Linked DNA regions of Homo sapiens: region 1 is linked to region 2. Evidence: promoter capture Hi-C in human tissues and cell types (Jung and others, 2019). All regions are on one chromosome and are shown on one strand. The core of a region is centred on a gene start or on the middle of the fragment in contact, and the rest is flanking DNA. Distances in the headings are between cores, read along the strand shown. Region 1 overlaps UBE4B (ubiquitination factor E4B). Region 2 holds the start of CLSTN1 (calsyntenin 1).

Region 1 (5,134 bases), core at 1,027-3,526, 360 kb before region 2:
TACATCTGGGGTCAACGTGAGTGGCTAGTAACGAATGAAAGCTGTGATATTGAAGTTATCTAATTGTTTAAAATGGGGGTTAGGTCTAGAGCTGATCTCAAGGCCAAAGTCCCTTCCAAAATGCTATGCTGCTTCTCCTTGGGCATTCTGAGCTATTCTGAACTTCTAGCATTCTGGAACTCTGCCATACAGCAGGAGTCGGGAAGAGATGAGGCTGGAAAGGCCAGATGGCCTAGATTCATGTGCCAGTTCCACTACATTATGGTTGTGGAGGGTTAAATTAATTAATATATGTGGCCGGGTGCGGTGGCTCTTGTCTGTAATCCCAGCACTTTGGGAGGCCAAGGCAGGTGGATCACGAGGTCAGGAGATCGAGACCACCCTGGCTAACACGGTGAAACCCTGTCTCTACTAAAAATACAAAAAATTAGCTGGGCATGGTGGCGGACACCTGTAGTCCCAGCTACTCGGGAGGCTGAGGCAGGAGAATGGCGTGAACTTGGGAGGCGGAGCTTGCAGTGAGCCGAGATCGCGCCACTGCACTCCAGCCTGGGCGACAGAGCGAGACTCTGTCTCAAAAAAAAAAAAAAAATTAATACATGTAAGAGTGGCTTGCACATAGAATATGCTCATGAAATGCAAATGATCATCACCAATTCAGAATGACTTTCTTCACCAACACTATCTGACACCAGCATCAAGCTCATAGGCTACTGTGTCTCCTTCAATCAAAAACGTACCTTGAGGCCTGGTGTGGTGGCTCATGCCTGTAATCCCAGCACTTCGGGAGGCTGAGGCAGGTGGATCACTTGAGGTCTGGAGTTCAAGACCAGCCTGGCCAACATGGTGAAACCCCATCTCTACTAAAAAAAAAAAAAAAAAAAAAAAAAAATTAGCTGGACATGGTGGCATGTGCTCTAGTCCCAGCTACTCGGGAGGCTAAGGCAGGAGAATCACTTGAACCTGGAAGGTGGAGGTTGCAATGAGCCAAAATTGCGCCACTGCACTCCAGCCTGGGTGACGGAGCGAGACTCCGTCTGAAAAAAACCAAAAAACAAAAAAAAGTACCTACTCAAATGAGGCCTATTCATGTCACTTTAGCACTCCAATCAAATTGCTGTGAAATTCACTACTCGATGTACCAAACCCAGAGGTTACAAAAAGTGAACGGTGTGCTCAGCTTTTTTTTCAAAAGATATTCAATCAATATCTTTTTAAAATCTACACAACACTGAGTCACAACACAAGGCAGATTTTAATCATCTTTCTCTCAAGGATCATTTCTCTTCTGCCAATCTGATTCTCTTATTTGACAATCTTCCTTTTAGCCAAGACCTACTTTTAATATATTTTGGGATTTATTTCAATATCCACAATTAAGAGACTGCAGACAAACACAAAACAGCAACTCTTGAGACTCTAAAAATGGAAACCCAAATCATCTTCCCCCTATAGATAGTACAGGCAGGAGACTGACTGTGTCTCTGTCCTATCCGGCAGGTCCTTGAAACCTCTGAATTATTCAAAACGACAAGTGCATATGGCGGTATAAAGCAGCATTTTATTACATTCACGGGGACAACTGGAGGATTAAAATAAGAGTTTGGAATCTGGGATGGAGAGGAGACAAGCAGTACACACTGGTCAGATAACCACACAAACAAAATTAGGCAAGATGCCAGTCAGTATCCTAATTCTACAGGCACTAAGCTTAGATATGTAAGTTTAGTAAAAAGTAAACCCAATTAAACAGAATCTTCTGCATGGTGAGAATATGGATTTTTTTTCTTTTTGCTTATATTGCCTAAAATTTTTGCTATCATGAACTTTTTCCTTATTTATTGTGTCTATCTATCTATCTATTTTTTGAGACGAAGTCTCACTCTTGTCCCCTAGGCTGGAGTGCGATGGCGCGATCTCAGCTCACTGCAACCTCCACCTCCTGGGTTCAAGCAATTCTCCTGCCTCGGCCCCCCGAGTAGCTGGGATTATAGGCACCCACCACCACGCCCAGCTAATTTTTGTATTTTCAGTTGAGATGGGGTTTCACCATGTTGGCCAGGCTGGTCTAGAACTCCTGACCTCAGACGATACACCTGCCTTGGCCTCCCAAAGTGCTGGGATTACAGGCGTGAGCCACCGCACCTGGCCATGTTATATATATATATATAAATATATATAAATAAATATATATGTAAATATATATAAATATATATTTTTTCTTTTTTGAGACGGAGTCTCGCTGTCACCCAGGCTGGAGTGTGATGACGTCATCTCGGCTCACTGCAACCTCCACCTCCCAGGTTCAAGCAATTCTCCTGTCTCAGCCTCCCGAGTAGCTGGGACTACAGGCGCTGCCACTACGCCCGGCTAATTTTTTGTATTTTTAGTAGAGATGGGGTTTCACCATGCTGGCCAGGCTGGTCTCGAATTCCTGACGTCAGGTGATCCATCCGCCTCAGCCTCCCAAAGTGCTGGGATTACAGGCGTGAGCCACCGGGCCCGGCCTGAGGAAGAATCTTGAAGGTCAGGGAAGATACTTGAGATAAAGCAGAAGAAACTCAAGAAAGGCAGAAGACTGAATATGACAAAGCTTACCCCCTCAAATCAGCAAACAGTGAAATGAGAACCAAATGTCGAGACTGACATGAATAAGAAAGTTTTCTTTTAAAAATAGCAGCTCCTAATTGGATCCAGGAAAGATCATTCACCACATGCAAACTCACTTGGCTCTTGTTTACCCACCCGCCCTGCCCTTTTTTTTTTTCCACAAAAGAGAAGAGACTCAAAGAAGATTTCTTCTGAACGTGTGTCACCATTTATTGTAGTTTGCGTTAGGAATTGAACAGAGGACATTGTCTGTGGAGGGAAAAAAGGAAAAGAAAAAAGAAAGTATGCTTTTTATAGACTTAATTTCTTCAGAACACTTTATGGTTTCAAATCCTTTTTTTTTTTTTACCCCAAAGGAAATTTGAGAATTCAAGTATGTTAAGTAGGGAGCAGTAATACAAAAAGTCTTATACTTGTGTGCGCGTGTGGCTGTGTTTGTCTGTGTGTGTTGAAACCGGCAGACATACTCCCACATTCTTGCACCCTCTTTTGCTTTGGTAAGGCCAAACACATCACACAAATGACCCTGCCTCAAACTCACACACCCAAGGGTTGAAGAATTGATTTACCCCCAGAGGATAACTGTGAAGGTTTCAAACTGTCACGTAGCATTAAAAAAAAAACCCAACCCTCATCTCCCCAAAATATAAGTCACATAAGTCCTGATACACTTACACCCCTAGATTTTGCTGCAGCTGCTCCTCAGATGCCGAAGAGAGGCTTATCACAAGGACCAGAGCAGCAGGATTTTCTTTATTTTGTTTAGAATAAAAAAATCTTAAAGGGACATTTCAAAAGAAAAAAAAAACTGAAATTCAAATTCTGAAAATATCTTGCCTTTTTTATTAATCATGTCATCTAACACCAATTAAAAAAACAAATATGTGAATATGATATAAAAATACGATCCCAGGATTAACACTTGGTAGCAGGCACAGTTATCTCACAGAATATATGTTTGGAGGGCCAGGGAAAGGAGTTTACTTTTGTTTTTGCTTCTCTTAAAAAAATCCACAGCAGTGCAAGTAGGGTCAGGAAGGGGGAGAGGGGAAAAAAGATTCTTTAGCAGCAAAATGTCCAAGGTTCTCTAATCACAATCAAATCAACGGATATTGGATTAAAAAAAAATTCATGAAGGGATGCTGCCCAGACCCATTAGCCATCACTAAAAGACTTCCGTTGCCCCAAACTGTGACATACGAAGGACATGCTTTATTACACAAGCAACCATAAAACCTGTCCCTTAAGCTTTTGACCGTGTTTGTCACTTAAATATATGTACAGGAAGCGGGCTCCTCTTCTCATCCATGTCCTTTCAGGTCTCAGCGTTTGCTCGCTCTGGGTGGGCCTGGGGTTGGTTTGCCACATTTGGCCTCCAACACATGAACGGCAGCTTCGCTGCGGCCGCTGCTTCTGCTTGCCTCGTTGGCCTTGGCTGTGTCTAGCAGAGGGTGGGCGGCGGAACGGTTTAGTGATCGCTGTTCTGTTTCTCTCTCATCCACGCCTGAATCTGCTCTTTCAGTTCTGGCACTGAGAAAAGAAAAAAAGGAGGATTAATGCCCCAGATGGGAGGGCTCTTCCTGAGAGAGGATGCTTGTCGCTCTGTATAAATGGGAAGAAAAGGCCATTCTTTCCCTCATTGAGCCGAAGACTCCAGAAGGACTGGGACATGAGAGGGAGGGACTGGATGTCTGCAGGGAAAAAGGGCCAAGAGTGTTTTGGGTCTTTGCTACAGAGTGTCATAAAGTAGGTAGTTTCTGCATTTGATAAATTTCCCTTCTGCTTCATCTCCAATATGTGACTTGGGCTTTATCTCTTGGTACTGACGCCAGCGCTGCACCTCAAACTGCACCCTCCTCTACCTGGTTCCAGCATGCTCTCTGTCAGCGTCTGCCGGTTGAAGGGGTCCGTGGGGGAGTTGAGCAGGTGCCGCAGGATGATGGAGCGGTCCATGATGGTGCCAGAGGGCAGCCGCACGGGGTCTGTCATGAGGGTGTCCATCAGAGGGTCTGCGGGGACAAAGCAAAGCAAACTCTAATCTACTGAGAGCCCACGACTGAAAAAGAAAACAAAGCCCGTTCTACCAGCGAAAAATCTATCCAAAGGAACAGCAATCAAAGGGCCCCTGTGAGGCCCCCAGGTTTAGAAGGAAATCAGCCTTCAATAAAGGCATATACATTGCCTTTTGTAAGGGGAAGGCGCTTCTTTGTCAGCTACTGCTGGGGGGAGGGAACAGAGAAGAAAGCCTGGGACAGACCCAGCAGCAGGCCCCACAGGCTCCGTGGCGAGGACGGCAGGCTGGAATTCTTTGTCTTAGGACTTCTGGGAATTCTTTGAAAATGTGAATCCCCACTTGCAAAGGCAGCCCTGCCCTTAGAATCTTCAGGGTTGTTATCTGGCTTTAAGTCAGGCTAAGCTAAGGATGTTTCTTCCTCTCAATTTACAATATGAGCTAAAAATAGGCAAATGTAATTTAAGACAGATTGTCTCAAAAAGCAGCTCTAGCACACCATTAAAAAATTAA
Region 2 (4,917 bases), core at 2,374-4,873:
AATTTCACACTGAGGCTAAGTCACCGTTTTGGGTTCAGATGGACATGAAATTGAATCTCAGGGATCCAACTTTCTAGCAATGTACTCTGGAGCAAATTTGGTATTTTCCTCATCTGTAAAATAGGAACAATAAAAGTACCTTTTTTTTTTTTTTTTTTTGAGTTGGAGTCTTGCTCTGTTAACCCAAGCTTCAGTGCAGTGGCGCCATCTTGGCTCACTGCAACTTCTGCCTCCCAGGTTCAAGTGATTCTCCTGCCTCAGCCTCCCAAGTAGCTGGGATTACAGGCACCTGCCACCGTGCTTGGCTGATGTTTGTATTTTTAGTAGAGACAAAGTTTTGCCACGATGGCCAGGCTGGTCTCAAACTCCTGGCCTCAAGTGGTCTGCCCGCTTCAGCCTCCCAAAGTGCTGGGATTACAGGCATGAGCCACTGTGCCTGGCCAAAAATACCTTCTGGAGAGTGTTGCTGGAGTTACAGATGATATGTTATTGTGATATGGTATCAGCAACAGTCATCTCAGAAGGTGCAGCATCTTGGAAAATTTTCTTGTGTGCGCTTCATCTACTGTCTCAGATAGAGTCACTATACATTCAAAAGTACAGATCTTCCTCCACTAGCTAACAAAGTCACCTCCTTATCCTCAAGTCTATGTTCCCAGTTCAGGATGGGCCTGGGTGATGCCTCATTCCCCATGGCTCCAGGGCCTCTGATGCTGCCACTTTGTCAGTGGCTGGCTCAGCTCAGGCAAGGCCCCTCTCCCAGCTAACCATAGCATAAGCCTGAATCGATCCCTGTCTCAGGGCCATTTGGAGGATTAACTAATCCATCATGGGGGAAACCTTTGAAATGTGCCAATGTGGCTGAGGCTATTGTCAGGCAGAGCAGAAACTGAGTTTACTGGTTCCCCCGTTTCCGAGACTTTCAAGCTGGACTCACTCTCATGTGGGTGAAATCCCAGCAGGTGCAGGTTGCACTGAGCTCACCAAGCCGTCTATCTGCCCCACCTGACGCTGGATCTTTTTGACCTATCTCTGTTTCTTTAAGGGACAGTAAGGGTGAGAAGATAAAGGGATCAGGATTCCAGACACTGAAGAGCTTTTGTTTGTGTTTTTAATAGAACTGAACACATTAAATTTCCCCTTTTGGCATCATCAGTCTATGGACTGAAAACATAGTTCTGAGATTATACCTTTCCGATTTTATGTTTTGCAAATCTCGAAGGTCCCTGGAAATCTACAGGGTACATCTTTTTTCACCCTCTGAGATGTGAGCTCCATAATAATAAAACCTAACTCAGCAATTCATTGAGTTCATCACTATTTATTGAGTACCTACTCTGATCGCTGGTATACTAGAAGCACAGAAGCCTTCTTCTTGAAGGGAAAAAGAAACTCATGTATCTAGAAACACCAGGCTCTATGTGGCACTTTCATTTATTTGCCACATAAAGCCTGGTATTTCTAGATCTATGTGGCATCATTTCATTTAATTCTCACAACTCTAAGAAGTACATATTGTTCCATTTCGCAGGTGAGGAGATTCTGAAAGTTCCATAACCTGGCCAAGGTCGTTTGCATTTGCAGAGGCCAGCACTGAAGTCCAGTCCCGTCTGACTAGACCATCTGGGTCCTTCCCACTAGAATACAGTGGGGAGGAGAAAAGGACACTGATGGATTAGTCAGTCGACAGCACAGGCAGCAGATTATAAAGCTGAACTGTTTGGTTAGAGCAGCTCGGGGCTGGAGAGGGAGGGCTGGCAGGAGGACTTCCTGAAGGAGACAGCCCAGAAGCTCCTTGTAAGGACCTGAGGCTTGGGTATGGGTGGAGGAGGAAGTGTGATGTTGGCCCTGGGAGGGGAATGAATAAGAAGAGACAGTGGCAGACAGCATGCCCTGAGGTCAGCTGGGTGGAGGATGGGAAGCCCAGCAGAGATGTCTGGACCTGACGAGGTGGCAGCAGGGAGGCACTCACTGAGTTTATAACTCCAGGAGGGGCAGAAGCAATGGCAACACCCGTCACCAGGGGAGAGGATGACTCAAAGCCTTGGCTGGAAGGAGTGGTGGGTGTGGCTTGGAGCCTGCCCGGGCCAGGCAGGTGCTTTGGGAAGGGTCCAGCCAAGGAGAGTCCGGTCTTCCTCCACGCAGGGGAGGGGGAGCAGGGGAAGGAAGGAGAGACATTAACAAGATGGAATCTGTAGGCTTTGGTGCAGGACGCTTACGGGGAACACGGCTCAGGGAGTTGGATTCCAGATTGCTTTTGAAGCCTTCCCCAGGTCACATCACACCGCTGTTCCCAGCCGTTCCAGGTCTTCCTGTTGACTGTAGGATCAAGTCCATTCCCCCAATCTGACCTCAGTCTACGTTTTTGGGCTCTTTGCCCACTAGTCTCCTAAATAAGTCCTCTGCGCCCCACAAACCAGTCTCCACCCAGCCTCCAGTGCTGCCAGCCTCCTCCACCCCCACCTGGAGCAGTGACATTCATGGATAGCTCCTCCAGCGGTCTCGAAAAATGAACATTTTAGGGTTCCACTTTTTGCTGTTGGTGTCCCCCTAATGCGAACATCCTGTCCTTGAGGGCTGATTCTTTTTACAATAGTTGTCCCAACGGGGGAAGTCATTTCACCTTTCTGACTTAGTTTCCTTATCTGCAAAATGGAGCCAGTAGTGTCTCATAGGGTACAGTGCCTGCACACACGCCCATCCACGGCTGTTCCAGGCCTTTCCTCCACTGCGGGGGGGTGCCAGGGGTCCAGAGGCGAGGAGGAGGGGGCCGCTGGACGCTGGGAAATTGGGAGGACCCCAAGATCCCTGTAGGGATCCACGGTAGAGGGGGAGGGCTTCTCTGTCCTCTCTATCCATTCGGACCTCCGCATTTCTAAGAACCAGCATCGCACCATGTCACTGAGAAAGAGCGCGCACACCAGCCGCCTTTTGAAAGTCACAAATAGATTCCTTCAGTGAATTCAGGACAGACTCCCCGGGGGCAGGTCCCGGGGCGGGAGCCGGTGTGGGTAGTGCTGCGCGGCCCTTAACTGTTTACCAGGCGCGTTTCGCTGACCTCGTCTCCTGGACCCCCTTTCGTGACCCCTCTCAACACCTCTACTGGGGAGACGAGGACCCCGAGGTTCTGGGGGGCGACGCGACCTGCCCGAAGTGACAAGGGTCCTGGGCCGCACTGCTCCGCCGGGGTCTGCGCTCCTCGGCGGAGCGGGTGGGAAGGATGAGTCCTCGGGGTGGAGAAGGAGGAGCGGGTCCCCGGGTACCGCTCACCCGGCCTTAGGAGCCCGGGAGCGCGCGTAGGGACGCGGAGTTGAGGCTCTCCATCTGCGGCCAGGGAAAGGGATACAGTCCCCCGGGCCCCTCCCGGCCGCTCGGAACCCACCCCAGGCGCGTCCCCGCGGGCGCGCGCTCCAGGCGGGGCCGACGGGCTCGGAGGCGCGCGCCCGCTGCCGGGTCCGCCGCGCGCGCTCCCTCCGCTCCTCTCCCCCGCCCCTCCCGGGCCCGCGCGCTCCCAGGGTCCGCCGCGCGCGCGCCTCGCGTCGCTCCCCATCCCCGCCCCTCCCGCCGCCACCCCGCCCCCGGCCGGGTACCCTCGCCGGACCCGAGAGAGAGCGCCGCCGCCATCTTAGTTGCTGCCGCTGCCTTCAGCAAGACGCTGCTCTGAGGCGGGGAGGGCGCCGCGTCCTGAGCGCGCGGCCCAGCGTCACGGCGGCGGCGGCGGCGGCTCCTCCTTGGACCCCCGGAGCTCCCCGCGCCGCGGAGCAGCTAGCCCCAGGCCCCTAGAGCCCCGAGAGCTCCGAGAGCTCCGCTCGGCGTCCCGCGCGCCTCCCTGCCGCTCCCGCCCCGGGCTGGCGATGCTGCGCCGCCCCGCTCCCGCGCTGGCCCCGGCCGCCCGGCTGCTGCTGGCCGGGCTGCTGTGCGGCGGCGGGGTCTGGGCCGCGCGAGGTAAGCCCCGGGGCTGGGCCGGGCCGCTGGGTCGGTGCGGGATTCGGGTCCGGGTGCAGGATTCGGGTCCCGGTGCGGGGATTCGGGTCCGGGTGCGGGAGTAGGGCCGGATGCCGGGATTCGAGCCGGGATGCGGGGAGTCGGGTCCGAGCGCAGGGAGCCGGGTCAGGGCGTGGGGTTCGGGTTGGGGGTCGGGCTCGCGGAGCCGGGGCCAGGGCGCAGGAGACTGTGGGCGCGCGCTGCAGGCGTCCCGGGGAAGCCAGGCTCCGTCCCGGGCGGGGCTCCTGAGCCTGGGCTGCCCCCACTGCAGCCCATGGTGGTGGCTGCGCTGATTTGGGGGAACGTGCAGACGGGCCGAAGGGTCAGTCCGCCCTGCTCAGCGGCGCACGCAGGCTGGGGCTGCACCCCTGGGTGAGATGCTCTGTGTACGTGTGCTCAGATGTGCATCAGGCGGGGGGTGCACGCACAGTTTTGGTGTGTGCTTACATAAGAGCCCACTCCTCCGCATCCCGTTTCCAAGATCCCGATTCTGTGTTGCTGCACCGCGGACACCACGACTTCGCCCCTTTCCGCCTCCTCCCAGAGTCCTTCAGACGTTGTCTGTTTCCAGTGGAGCCGAGGCTGAAACTTAGTGCTTCCCTCCCACCTTTTCACCCAAAGGTGAAATCGCGATGAGATTTGCGACCGCGGGCTCACCCAGTGTTAGAAATCTCCGTCTCTGCTACCCCTGGTGCCTTGGTGCTGTTTTTCTGACGGTCATTTAGACCGTGGAGGGTTAGATGTTCTCTACAAAAACGAGAAACCTCTCTGGTTTTTTAGGATTGTAGGACCGAAATTATTTTATGGCTCGGTGGGAAGTAGTATTTCTTGGCTAATTTATTATTAGCTTTTAACCTTCATCCACTTAACCTTTTAAACCTTGCATGCCTCTGCTATTGACTGGTCTTGCCAACGAAAAGCTTACGCATTGCA

The links. The method cuts DNA at HindIII sites, captures the fragments that hold promoters and counts their contacts. A contact is called where the count stands out against the background at its distance.
Region 1: a fragment that was not itself captured here is called in contact with the fragment with the promoter of CLSTN1 in region 2 in 2 of the 25 tissues and cell types used here (dorsolateral prefrontal cortex and mesenchymal stem cells).

The regions. Positions count from the first base shown.
Region 1 is chr1:10,178,901-10,184,034 of GRCh38, reverse strand. It overlaps UBE4B (ubiquitination factor E4B), which reads right to left. Exons shown (of 28, transcript NM_001105562.3): 27 at 4,473-4,619; 28 at 2,796-4,140. The coding sequence ends at 4,079. Among named protein-coding and RNA genes, the nearest start is that of KIF1B, 29 kb to the left of the region's middle. The HindIII fragment of the contact is 5,206 bases long and covers 1-4,879 here.
Region 2 is chr1:9,822,671-9,827,587 of GRCh38, reverse strand. It overlaps CLSTN1 (calsyntenin 1), which reads left to right and starts at 3,623. Exons shown (of 19, transcript NM_001009566.3): 1 at 3,623-3,945. The coding sequence starts at 3,855. RefSeq lists enhancers at 1,913-1,972, 3,033-3,749 and silencers at 3,362-3,421, 3,442-3,491, 3,662-3,811, 3,822-3,901. The HindIII fragment of the contact is 7,682 bases long and covers 1-4,917 here.